2 separate regions of the Homo sapiens genome follow, and region 1 is linked to region 2. The links are contacts of gene promoters, found by promoter capture Hi-C in human tissues and cell types (Jung and others, 2019). All regions are on one chromosome and are shown on one strand. Each heading gives the region's core, a stretch centred on a gene start or on the middle of the fragment in contact. The rest is flanking DNA. Distances are from core to core; before and after follow the strand shown.

What was found. The method cuts DNA at HindIII sites, captures the fragments that hold promoters and counts their contacts. A contact is called where the count stands out against the background at its distance.
Region 1: a contact is called between a fragment that was not itself captured here and the fragment with the promoter of SLC35G1 in region 2, in 2 of the 25 tissues and cell types used here (mesenchymal stem cells and thymus).

What each region holds. Positions count from the first base shown.
Region 1 is chr10:93,955,330-93,960,826 of GRCh38, forward strand. It overlaps the pseudogene PIPSL. Among named protein-coding and RNA genes, the nearest start is that of PLCE1, 36 kb to the right of the region's middle. The HindIII fragment of the contact is 3,706 bases long and covers 1,206-4,911 here.
Region 2 is chr10:93,891,677-93,897,938 of GRCh38, forward strand. It overlaps SLC35G1 (solute carrier family 35 member G1), which reads left to right and starts at 2,302. Exons shown (of 3, transcript NM_001134658.3): 1 at 2,302-2,535. The coding sequence starts at 2,358. RefSeq lists silencers at 2,276-2,705, 4,191-4,240. The HindIII fragment of the contact is 9,096 bases long and covers 1-4,703 here.

The DNA.
Region 1 (5,497 bases), core at 1,809-4,308, 64 kb after region 2:
TCTGAATCAACATCCAATGCTCTTTACCCTTTATCAGAGGTTGTATTTTATAATTTTAATTAGAAAAATATGAAGCACCACTATTAGGGCAGTGAAACTAATATTCATCCATACTGCATAATCTTGTGCCAAAAACAATTCCTAAAGAGAATTTCCAAAACATTTTAAGCAATGGCATCCTCATTAGCATGAGTGTGTGGTCTTCTAAAAAATAAATGAATGGTGTTCCTATATTTCCAGATACGTGGTTGGACTTTAAAGTCTCATTATTTCAATGTCACAACTGGTAAGACTTTAAAATGCTTACTGTATTAGCTTCTATAAAAAAATCATTATGCAGGAAAAAATATTGAAGGAATAAGTGATTTAATAGCTGCAAAAGGGAAAATTGCAAAGAATACCTAATGAATGTTAACATAACATAAAACCAGGCTTGTGGGCTACTTTATTTTTATCTAGGAAAAGAAAAAATGTTAGCATAATACTGATACCTACATGTCTACAGAAGAACTTCATCATACTTGGAGGTTATATGCTAGAATTTCCTCTCATAAATAGAGAAATATGAGAGAGATGTTGTCTAATTCACTTTTCCCCACAGTTGTTGGCTTTGGGTCATTCATTCTGTTATACGTTTCTTGTAGGTGCAGTGACTACATGTATGAAATAAGCCTGCATGAGTGTTATATCAAGATAAAAGGGTCATATATGTGCCATAATTGGTCATCGAATGGCTTGACACTGATGTGTTAGAACAGTTCAACACCAATTGTTAAATATTAGGAAATTTTGTGAGCCAATCATGGAGCATTTACCCAATGGAAGTCAGTAAATACGACACACCAGGGGTTCCCCTCACTCCCACCCAAGCCAGTTTACCAGCACCCTGCTGACTTGAGGTGGGAGGAACAGTGGAGGGAGGTTGCTATTTACCACCTTACAAATGTTGGAAACCACAAATTGAGATTTCTCTGTACCGGCAGAGAATACCAAAGATTATGCCAACGTCTCTGGTTACTTTGGATTTGATTTATAAATAGAATTTTACTAAAGCTGGGACAATAAGGCTGCATTTAAGGGCATTTCTATCTTGCCAAACAAACATTGGGAGCTACAAAAGAAATCCAAAGTGTTCGCAGTGGATCGTTTAATTTACCTTCTGCTTAAAATAATGTATGGTGGCCACTATATTTATATAGTTGGAAAAAAAAGGAAAGTTAAGACTATAGATATATACTTTCTCTTTAAGAAAGAGAAATCATTTTTGACATATATTTTTGGAAAAGCAGGCACTAAACTGATGATCTCTTAGGAGAGTGGAGATGGGATTAATGGGAATGTTTATTCTCTTAATGTCCAAATTTTCTTTGTTGCTTTTTTTTAAAAAGTGGTGTTTAATTTTCTTTTTTCTTTTCTTTCTTTCTTTCTTTCTTTCTTTCTTTCTTTCTTTCTTTCTTTCTTTCTTTCTTTCTTTCTTTCTTTTTTTTGAGACACGGTCTTGGCAAGATCACAGTTCACCACAGCCTCCATCTGCCAGGCTCAAGTGATCCTCCCACCTCAGCCTCCCAAGTAGCTGGGACTACAGGCTCATGCCACGATGTCCAACTATTTTTTTTTACTTTTGGTAGAGATAAGGTCTCACCATGTTGCCCAGGTTGGTTTCAAACTCCTGAGCTCAAGCGATCCTCCAGCCTCAGTCTCCCTAAGTGCTGAGATTACAGGCATGAGCCACTGCACCAGCCAGCATTTAAGATTCTTATAACTAAATAGTACTTTTAAAAGAAAGAAAAGGACCAAATAATATCAGATAAATGTGGTCATACTGACCACTTGGTAATGGCCTGTTCAAGGCTGAAAACTTCTCCAATCGATCATTTCCATTCTTATTCGTCTAGTCTCAACCTATTTTCATTTCTTAATTGACTTGATTTTTCTTCAAAGATTAAATGCATTTGTTTCTTGTTGAACTCAGAATTTTCAGTTATTGTGCTTGTTTCAAAATGCTTTAAAATTAGTTCCTGCATTGTATTGAGAGACATATCAACTGAACTCTAAGGACTGGTGAGGTCTTGCAAGCCCACCACTGCTTTCATTTGTTTGCAAACCCCATGGGACTCCTATTTCCAAGTGCTGGCAGTAGACAGAGCTGGCAAAATTTTGTTCTGACAGACTACTTTATTCTTGTCAAGGAAAGTTTGTCAGTGGAAACTATGTCAGTAGAGGAGCTTCTGGAGAATTCCAGCATCAGGGGCACTGGGTTGTTATTTCTGGCTTGGCTGTAGAATGAACCCTGGGACTATAGGCAAGTCACTTAATCTTTTAAAGTCTCACCTGAAAATAAGAATAATACCATGATTCTGTGACTCAAAGATACACATTTTCCCTGCATTTTATTATTCCTGAAATGGAATGTGTCTAAATAAACTTGCCAGCTTCCAGGCCCAGTATGGATACCCCAGTATGAGATATAAGTAACATTTGTGAATGTAGGTGAACTTGGAGGGCTACATAGAAGGTATCTGCTTATTTGATATCACATGGGATGAGTGATTTGCATTGATAGCAGCACACATGTTTATTTGCATTTCATGTTAAATAAATCAAAATTTACATTTATTCTGATCAAAGCAAATCTTTGTCTCTGGAGGACTGAATAAATATTTTCCTATTAACAAGCAACAGCCTCTAATAACTGTTATTAAATTGTCATCCTCAACTGATGACATATTATAATCAAGGAAAAGGGAAAATAATACCAGCAGGCTAATGTTGAAGATTCAATAAGATTAAGCTCATAAAATGCTTAGCATAGTGCCTGGTGCATAGGACGCACTCAAGAAATATTGTCATCATTGTCATCATCATCATCACCACCATACTTTATAACATATTACTCAACAATTGCTTTCCATAGCCATATTTCATTCACAACCCCTGTGTAAGGAAGGCCGTAAAGTCTGATGCACCCAGAGACATTGGACAAGTCACTTAGTCTGAATAGTGGTTCTCAACTTTTGCTGAATTTCAGAATTACCTTGTGAGCTTTTGAAAAATATCAGTACCTGAGTCCCAGGCCAATTAAATTAGAATCTTTAGGGGTTGGGTCCAAGTATTTGAAATGTTATTAAAGCTTCCTGGTGATTTTAATGTGAATTATTTTATGTTAGTGGTTCTCAACCTTAGCTGCACATGAGAGATCACACAGCTCAGATGAAGCTCATCAGCATTTCAAGGGGTCAGATTTAGGCATCAGGATTTCTTTTCTTTTCTTTTCTTTTCTTTCTTTCTTTCTTTCTTTCTTTCTTTCTTTCTTTCTTTCTTTCTTTCTTTCTTTCTTTTTTTTTTGAAGCAAAGAAGGAAAAAATCTTGCCAAGCTTTATTTAGGCTATAATGATTACAGATAACACACATCTAACCCTATATTCCGTGCTTCCCATGCAGTCCCCTGAGCAGGCTCAGCTACCCTTTCCCTCCAGTCTCACTTCTTGTCTTCCTCCTTCTTGTCCTTCTTGCTGTCCTTGGTGGCCTGGGAGGCCAGGGAGCCCACAGCATTTCGAATGGCTTCATTGTTGGGATCCACACCTGGGAGGTTCTCTAGGACACTCTGAAGGAACTCAGGGTCTTGCATCACGTCGTAATCATCCTCCTCCTTGGCTGGCTCAGATGTGTCCATGGCTGAGCTGGCATCAATGTCTGCTGATTCTGCCAGGCCAAACTCTGCTCCCTGCAGGGACATCTGCATGGCACAAACAATCTTCTCTTCCTCAGTCATACTGCTTAGGTCAGGAAGCCCAGTGTGGCCAAACTCTTGCTGGCTGATGGTCATCTTCAGCAGGGCATCGTCTGAGTCTTCAGTCCCAGTCGTAGCAATCCCGGCCTCAGCAGCAGAAGCTGCAGCTGCCTGCCGGGCCTCCTCCTCCTGCCGCTGCCGCTGCTCTTCCATAAATACACGAAGGACCAAGGCCAGCTCAGGATCAGCACTGGGATCTACTCCAAATTCAAAGTCACTGGCACCAAGACCCATCATGGCACCACCTTCACCAGCCAAAATCGGAAAACTGATGAGAGCATCAGCCAAACTGGGCCCAGGAGGCACTGTCACCAGATGAGAACCGGTTCCATCTTTGCCATTCAACGTGTTTACAAAGGCTGTCAGCTTTTCTGTGTTCACCTCCTCTTCCCCAAAATTGATAATGTCAACATTTACTTTCTCCTTCTTGAGGCATTTAGCCAGTTTCACCAGATTCTTCTCATTGTCCTCCACCGGGTTTCCCACAAAGGCAATGATGCGGATCTTGTGATTGTTGCCTTGTCGGTGCTTCAGAGCCAGATGGGCCACGTGGATGCCCATGCAGAAGGTGATCTTGCCCTTGGGTTGGACAGTATGTAGCTTGGACAGGATACGGCCAGTGTCTGGGGTGAGTGTGGTCAGCACTTCACAGTCATTATCCAGTGTGATAAGGCCCACGTTGTTCTCAGGGTTGCTGCGGGTCTTTGAATGACAAACTGTGTTGACAGCATCCTGCTGGGCCTGCAGCCGGGTGGGTAAGAAGTCTCCATTCCCCATATACTCACTGTTGTCCACACTTGTAGTTAGCATTTGCAAAGTCTCTTCAACTAGAGGTGAGAAACTGGGGTCAGGAGTAGGTGAGCCCTCACTGATTTCCTCCAAAGGTGGAGTCTGAGGTAAAACATCAGGACAACCAAGGTGAACACCTGGCTCCACTTCCGCCTTTGTTGTCACTTGTGCCTTGTGTTCCCCAGAGACCAATGGCTGGTAAGTAATGCAGGAGTTGCCACTGGAGCCTGCTCGCTGAGAGAAAGATGAGCCAGACCGAAGTTTTTTGGAAGGAGAAGGCTTCAAGGGAATCTTCTTAAATACCGTGTTGCACATGAAGCGCTGGAACCATTCAGCATAGAAGCCTGGGCGATGCACTGAGACAGTGTCTCCGTCATGTATCAGGGCTTTCCAAGAGTGCTCCAACTTCTTAACAAACCTGTAAGACTGTAGAATGTCAATGATGCCAATATAAAGCAGAAGCCTTTCCCCTTTACTATTCCGGGCAGGGATGCCACCCATATGGTCATCGGTCTCCATGGTGCCACCCCGTCGAGCCTCTCCCTGGATGGATTCCATGGCTGTGGAATACAGAGCCTTTTGGGGGGCTGGTCTTCGAGTATCAACTGAGTATTGTGTTTCGCTGCTTAAGGGCTCTCGTTGTGCATGATCTATATTATGGATTGACATCAAGAGGCTATAATCCATTATCTTGAAGCTCTGCAGCACCAAACAGTCACGCTGCAGGGTCTTACAGAGAGCGTTGTGCACGTCAGCATCCAAAAAAAGACCATCAGGGATGTCTTGTAAGAAGTCTAGGTCTTTAAATGTGGGAAGAGGCTTCTCTCGCTCTTTCTGGGAAGCCCGCCGCCTGTAGGTTGAGCCTTTGAGGTCATATTTGATATGCATTTTTACCGATCTTGGTAAAAGATTGTTCAT
Region 2 (6,262 bases), core at 1,052-3,551:
TTTTTTTTTTTTTTTTTGAGACAGTCTCGCTCATGTTGCCCAGGATATAGTGCAGCAGCGTGATCTCGGCTCACCGCAACCTCCGCCTCCTGGGTTCAAGTGATTCTCCTGCCTCAGCCTCCTGAGCAGCTGGGATTATAGGCACCCGCCATTACACCTGGCTAATTTTTGTATTTTTAGTAGAGACGGGGTCTCACCATGTTGGCCAGGCTGGTCTCGAACTCCTGACCTCAAGTGATCTGCCCTCCTCGGCCTCCCAAAGTGCTGGGATTACAGGCCAGCTTGGTCCGCACTTTTCTCATTGGTTGCCTTTTATGTCAGCATGGCTGTCAGCTAAATGGGAGAATGAATATAACTGATACCATTTATATATGAAGGTCAGCAGTGGAGGGGAAGGAAGTTAAAGGGAATAAACAGCAGGTATGAAATCATCTCACCACCTTTAATAACTGGTGTAGTACCCATTTTCTTCTCTTCTTCTTCTCCCTTTTCGAGGATGGTGTTGAAAGTGTTGAAAGTGGAGCAGTCAGGGTACTTCCTTCTCAAATCATCACACTTCTTTCTTCTTTACCACACTTCCTAGCCATAATCTTCACCATTTAAGAGGAGGGGACTCTTCAAACCCTTTCCATATCGAAATCTTAGAATGCAATTGTGAAACTGCACTTGACTTCCCAGATATTTGAGGAAGCTTCCTGGTTCTTGCTTTATAATCATGATCTACCACCCTTACCATCCTTCCCTGAAATTTCCCTATCTAAAACAACGACAACAAAACCTGTTACAGATATTTTTGTAAGTAGCCTTAAATTCTTTTAAAAGTATTATTATTTTTTTTATAGAGACAAGGTCTATGTTGCCCAGGCTGGTCTCAAACTCCTAAGCTCAAGCAATCCTCCCACCTCAGCCTCCCGAAGTGCTAGGATGGTAGGCTGAGCCACCGTGCCCAGCCTTAAATTCTCTTTTAAGACAAGGCAAAAGTATGTGTTAATCAAGTTAGAATTCAGGTGACCATTTGTCTCAGTTTGCCTAGGACAGTCCCAGTTTATGCCTATTCCCTTGTGTAACTTTTAAAAGAGCTCCTCCTTTTACTCTTAAAAAAAAAAAGGTCCAGTTTGGAGGATAAATTATATGCTGACCCTAGTTTAAAACACACTTTGATTTTCTAACATAGTGTTTTCCAGGTGATATTATGCTTTTGCCCACATCATTGCATTTTATTTACATAACTACTCTGCGAAGCAGGAAGGGAAATACTTGATCGCTATTAAATAAAGGAGGTAATCAAGGCTTCGAGGGGTACAGTGGTGACTGAGGTCACACACTCAGGGCCAGAACCTAGGATTCCTGACTTCAAGTCTAAAACTGTTTCAGCTGTGGATCACTATGTGCAAATGTCTGAGTAAAGGCAAACTTCACTCTCCTTTGGTGATCTGCTTGGCACTGGACTTAGAAGTTTAGATACGTTCATCCTTGCACAGAGACTGTTCTTCCACATATAAAGCAAGCAAAGAGATGGAAGAAGAATTATTAGCTAAACAAAAAGAGGCTGTTAGTGAATCCTGGGCCAAAGAATATATTTTACCAGGTCTAATTACATCAGATTACTTGAATCTTACATCTGGCCAAATTAGGATATTTCCATTTAAGAAAAGAAAACCAAAGATCAATAATGCATGCCTACTCTTGCAAAGAATGCAAAGAACATATAAATGGGTTCTGGTCAGTCTTATAGATATATTTTCCTATAATTACACACTAATTCTTTCTTAAAAATATTTCCCAAAACAGCAAAATTCTACCCTCCTTGGTAAGCAGCAAAGGGACAACACGGGAAACAAAACAAAACAAAACAAAACAAAACAAAACATAAAAACCCTAGACCATTTAAAGACAAGCATGGTGCTTTGTAAAATCTTCGGGGTATCACAGAGGTGCTGAATGCGTGGTTACATCAATGAAAAAACGCCCACTCTTTGAGCCTCCTGAAAAGGAGGCCACAGGACCCCCGGGCGCCAGGGCTTGGGAACCCAGCGCCCCTCCTTGTCTGTGCCATGACAGACAGGTTCAGTGTGACTTGCCAAGGATGGCTCCAAGCAGCTGGGCCATGTAGCCTGAACGCAGCAGAGGGTTGGACGCCTTAGAGCCAGCTGTGGGCACCACAGCCCGACCAGGGAGGCAGCGGGTCTCCCCAGGTTAAGAGGCCAGCGGAGGACGCGCGCGGTCTCCTTGGGGGAGGGTGCGGGTGGGCCGGGCGCGCATGCGCATGGGCGCCATCGCCCGCCGGAAGAGCGGCAGCCCAGGCGCTGCTGCTGGCGCCAGACGGCACCGGCCGCTGGTAGAGCGCGTGCCGCGAGATGCGGCCTCAGGACAGCACCGGGGTCGCGGAGCTCCAGGAGCCCGGGCTGCCGCTAACGGACGATGCACCCCCGGGCGCCACTGAGGAGCCGGCGGCCGCCGAGGCAGCTGGGGCGCCAGACCGCGGTAGGTGCTGGCTCTGCCTTTCCTCGCCGTGTTGCTCCCGCACCGAGCCGGGTGAGTGCGCGGTGTGGATCGGGCTCTGGTCTCGCTCGGGGGTCCCGAGCGGGCGCCGGCGGGTTGGGGTCCCCGCAACCCGGGCACAGTGCCCGCCGCGCCTCCGTCCCCACCCTGCCCGGGGCTCGGGAAACCCCTCGAGCTGTCAGCTGGGGGGCTGCAAAGCGGAATTCCCGGCGCCCCAGCCGGCGCTAAGACGGAAGAAACTTTCCGATTGTTAGCAGTCCTTTTGGGATTCCGAGGCTGCTCCTGTAATTAGTGTCGGGGCAGGGCTGTGGAGTCAGACTGCAGTTTGGCGTACCCTCCCCTAGGTCGTAGGTGGGGGGTCAGCGAGAGAGGCCATCCTGCAGTGGGGCGACGTTGCGAGGAAGCTGACCCTGAAAAGTGATCCCGGTGGTTAAGGGTTCTCTCCGAAAAGGAAGCTGAAAAGCATCGAGTCTAGAAAAAATGTTCGTCCTAGAGTTTTAGAATCTTGGAAAGGCAGAGATAAGTGGGACCGCTAGTTTTTAACCTTTAGGGATACAAGGACTTTTTAGCAAACGATGCAGAACAAGGCATATCTTGTTAAGAAGCTCACAGCCCCGTCCCCAAAGTCAGGGACCCCTCGTGAAGAACACTTTATGTTCAGTCCCCCTCCTTCGACACATGAGCAAAGTGAGGCCCAGGAAGGTGAGGGCTTTTGGGTTTTCGTTTGCTTTGTCTCCTCCAAGATGTGGAACGTGGGGGTGAGATGGGGCGCATGTCCAGGGAGCACCAGGGTTAGGATCCCAGCTTGCCATATACCGGCCTAGGGCCCTTTCCACTGGCCACAAGTGCTGCTTCAAGCACATTCCTCTTAGAAGTCGACCATCTACCAGGAGCAGCTTCCTGCAAGAAGAAGGGAATAGGCAGATCTCTTTTTAGGACAGTTACACGGCCTGCACCACCTTGTCCTCTGGGTCACCTCCCCTAAGTGTGACCCTGGATTTCTGTTCCTCTCCTCTCACTGCGCTTTCCCCTCCTCCCTTTGTGCACTTTCCCCAAGTTAGAGAGACAGACTCTAGGAAGACTATTCTTGCTCCATTTCTGTCCTAAAGGCAAACCGAAATGATCAGACTTGTGATCATTTATAAATGGGCTGGTGCCTCTAGAACAGGGGTTATGCCAGGCTGAATTGAACAGATAAGCAGCCTTTGAAAAGGTCAGTTTCTCACCTATCACCCTCTGGGTGAATGTCCTTCTGGTGGCATGCCGAATCAGTCCATGCAAACTCTTAAAGTTTCCCCTTTTTGTGAATGGAAGAGGAATTCTCTACTCCCAGGCAGCTCATGGCAAGATGAGAAACTTACGTGAGTGTATCTAAGAATCTTGTGGGTGTTTAACTTCAAAGAAAGTTTCTACCAGTAAGACTTAGTTATTGTAAGGTGACAAGATAATATTTTGGAAAGAAAATTGACATAAAAACACTTTACTGTTGTCATTGAACTTTGTGACACCTCTTGTTCTAACTGCTTATCTCAACAAAGCTTTTTTCAAGTTCTGGTTGGAACTGTTACCCATATGTCTTACATTCTTGGATGACCTTAACAGACACATACAGCTGTCCCAAGACATCTCCTTACTTTCTTCAGGGACAGTGTGGGTCTTACACTGAAGCAAGGAGAAGTAGTTTCTTAGGCCTGTGCCTCACATCCTCTGGAGGGAGTTAGTGATCGAGTGTAGCAGTGGTTCTCAAACTAGTGGAGCCTTTTAGAGTTACAGAGATTCTATTTCGGTGGGTCTGAGATGGGGCTTGAGAATTAATTTTTTTTTTTTTTGGAGATAGGGTCTTACTCTGTCACCAAGGCTGTGGTGCATTGGCGTGATCACAGCTCACGGCGACCTCAACCTCCTGGGCTTACTCGATCCTTTCATCTAAGTCTCCTGAGTAGCTGGGACCACAGGCACACACCACCACACCCGACTAATTTAAAAATATTTTTTGCATTGATGAGGGGGTTTCCCCGTGTTGCCCAGGGTGGTCTCAAACTTTTGAGCTCAAGAGATCCTCCCACCTTGTCCTCCCAAGGTGCTGGGATTACAGGCATGAGCCACTGCACCCAGGAATTAAAGTTTTAAGTGTTACTCAGGTGATTCTAATTCCCAACCAGGATTGCGAATCACCAGCTGAAAGCAGAGGATAGAGAAGCTGAGTAATTTTTCAGTTTTCTTCTAAGTGAGGAAATTACACCATGGCCACTTACCTAATTTGAATAATTTGAGTTACCAAATTATTAGATATGCTTGCAGTGAGATATGAACATGGAACCTAAACAAATGCCTCTTTCAGTTATGCTAGTCATGCTCATCTCCATTGACAGGATTGAAATGATTTAGTAAGAAACTGAGGTTTGTCTGAGTGGAGCCAGTCCTCACCCTCGTTAACAAATCATCAAATGCAGCGAGGCCTTCTAATGTCTGTCCCTTCCCAGTTGGAAAGCATGAGCCTTAAGTGTTTATAGGCAAGAAAATACATGTGTATGTGTTTTAAGGGGAAAGGTCACTAGGGCCAAGGGGGTGCAATTACATTTTTAAAGAGTTAAAATATTTAATGTTAAGTTAAAATATTCCTGGGGAAAAATTAGCAAGTTTATGTTGGAGAAGATACTTGAAACAGAGCAGGGAGATGTTTTCTGTCCTTGATCTTCTCGGTCTGTTCTGTTTGAGGGTGGAGTTTCTATGTAGGGGTTGAGTTTCTTTTAAGAAAAACTGTTTTATTTGGAACTGAATTCTGAAATTTCAGAGGCCAGACCCTAAGGCTGACCACAGCCAAGGCATGTATTTTGTGGTGCTTCACTTGGAAGTCTTCTAAAGCTTCCTTCTCGTGGGCTGCGTGTGTGCAGTTTATTTCTGCAGTATACAAGCACATGGATACAGAACAGAATGAGGATTCTGGCATCTTAAGGGAAGGACTACTGCTAGTTCCAAAGCAGTATCTTCAGCTGTGCACCTAGAACAGGAAGAGGTAGAGAAGGGTGCCTTTGACCACAAGGCCAGGCTGTAGAATGCCCCAGAAAGCCTGTGCATCAGCATACTTTGGTCCCAGTTTGCAAAGTCATCTCACTAACCTGAGGATGTGTAAATGTGTTACCTGGTGTTTACATTTATCAGAGAAGGGCATTTTAAAAAACATTACACAATACTGTTTTATAGCTATCACATTATAAAGTCCTAGATTGGAATGATAATACGAGTTTTCCTACAAGTTGCTCATATCCACTCACCCTTCAGTTCCACTGTGCTCTTAATCAATGAGGGCCACTTGTGTTTCCTTCTTACCCTCAACCCTGTTTTTGTGTTAATTTCAAAAAAGAATATATCCCGCAGTGTGTGACCTTTGTTTTAGGGCATTCTCTGCCCACCCTGCTGCTTTTGCTCTCTGAATGACAGAGGAGTAAGACTGAAAGCAGGTTCTACTCCTGTGTAGGAAACTAAGACATAGTAAGTGGCTAAACAAGTTTAAAGCTCACACAGATTGTCATTAATGACTGAATACTTGATGCCCTGGAGAAAGCACTGGTTTCCTCGTTCAGATCGAGCCAAGAGTAGGGATTAGATGGCAGTTCTGTACAAAGCACTTGGGATCCAAAGGGCTAGATAACCCACACCCTCCCCTTGAGGAGTTTGTGCTCTGAATGGGAAGATAAGTCGTGAAAGCATGAAAAGTTAAATATAGATTTGATTAACAGTTCAAAATAACAAAATGGAG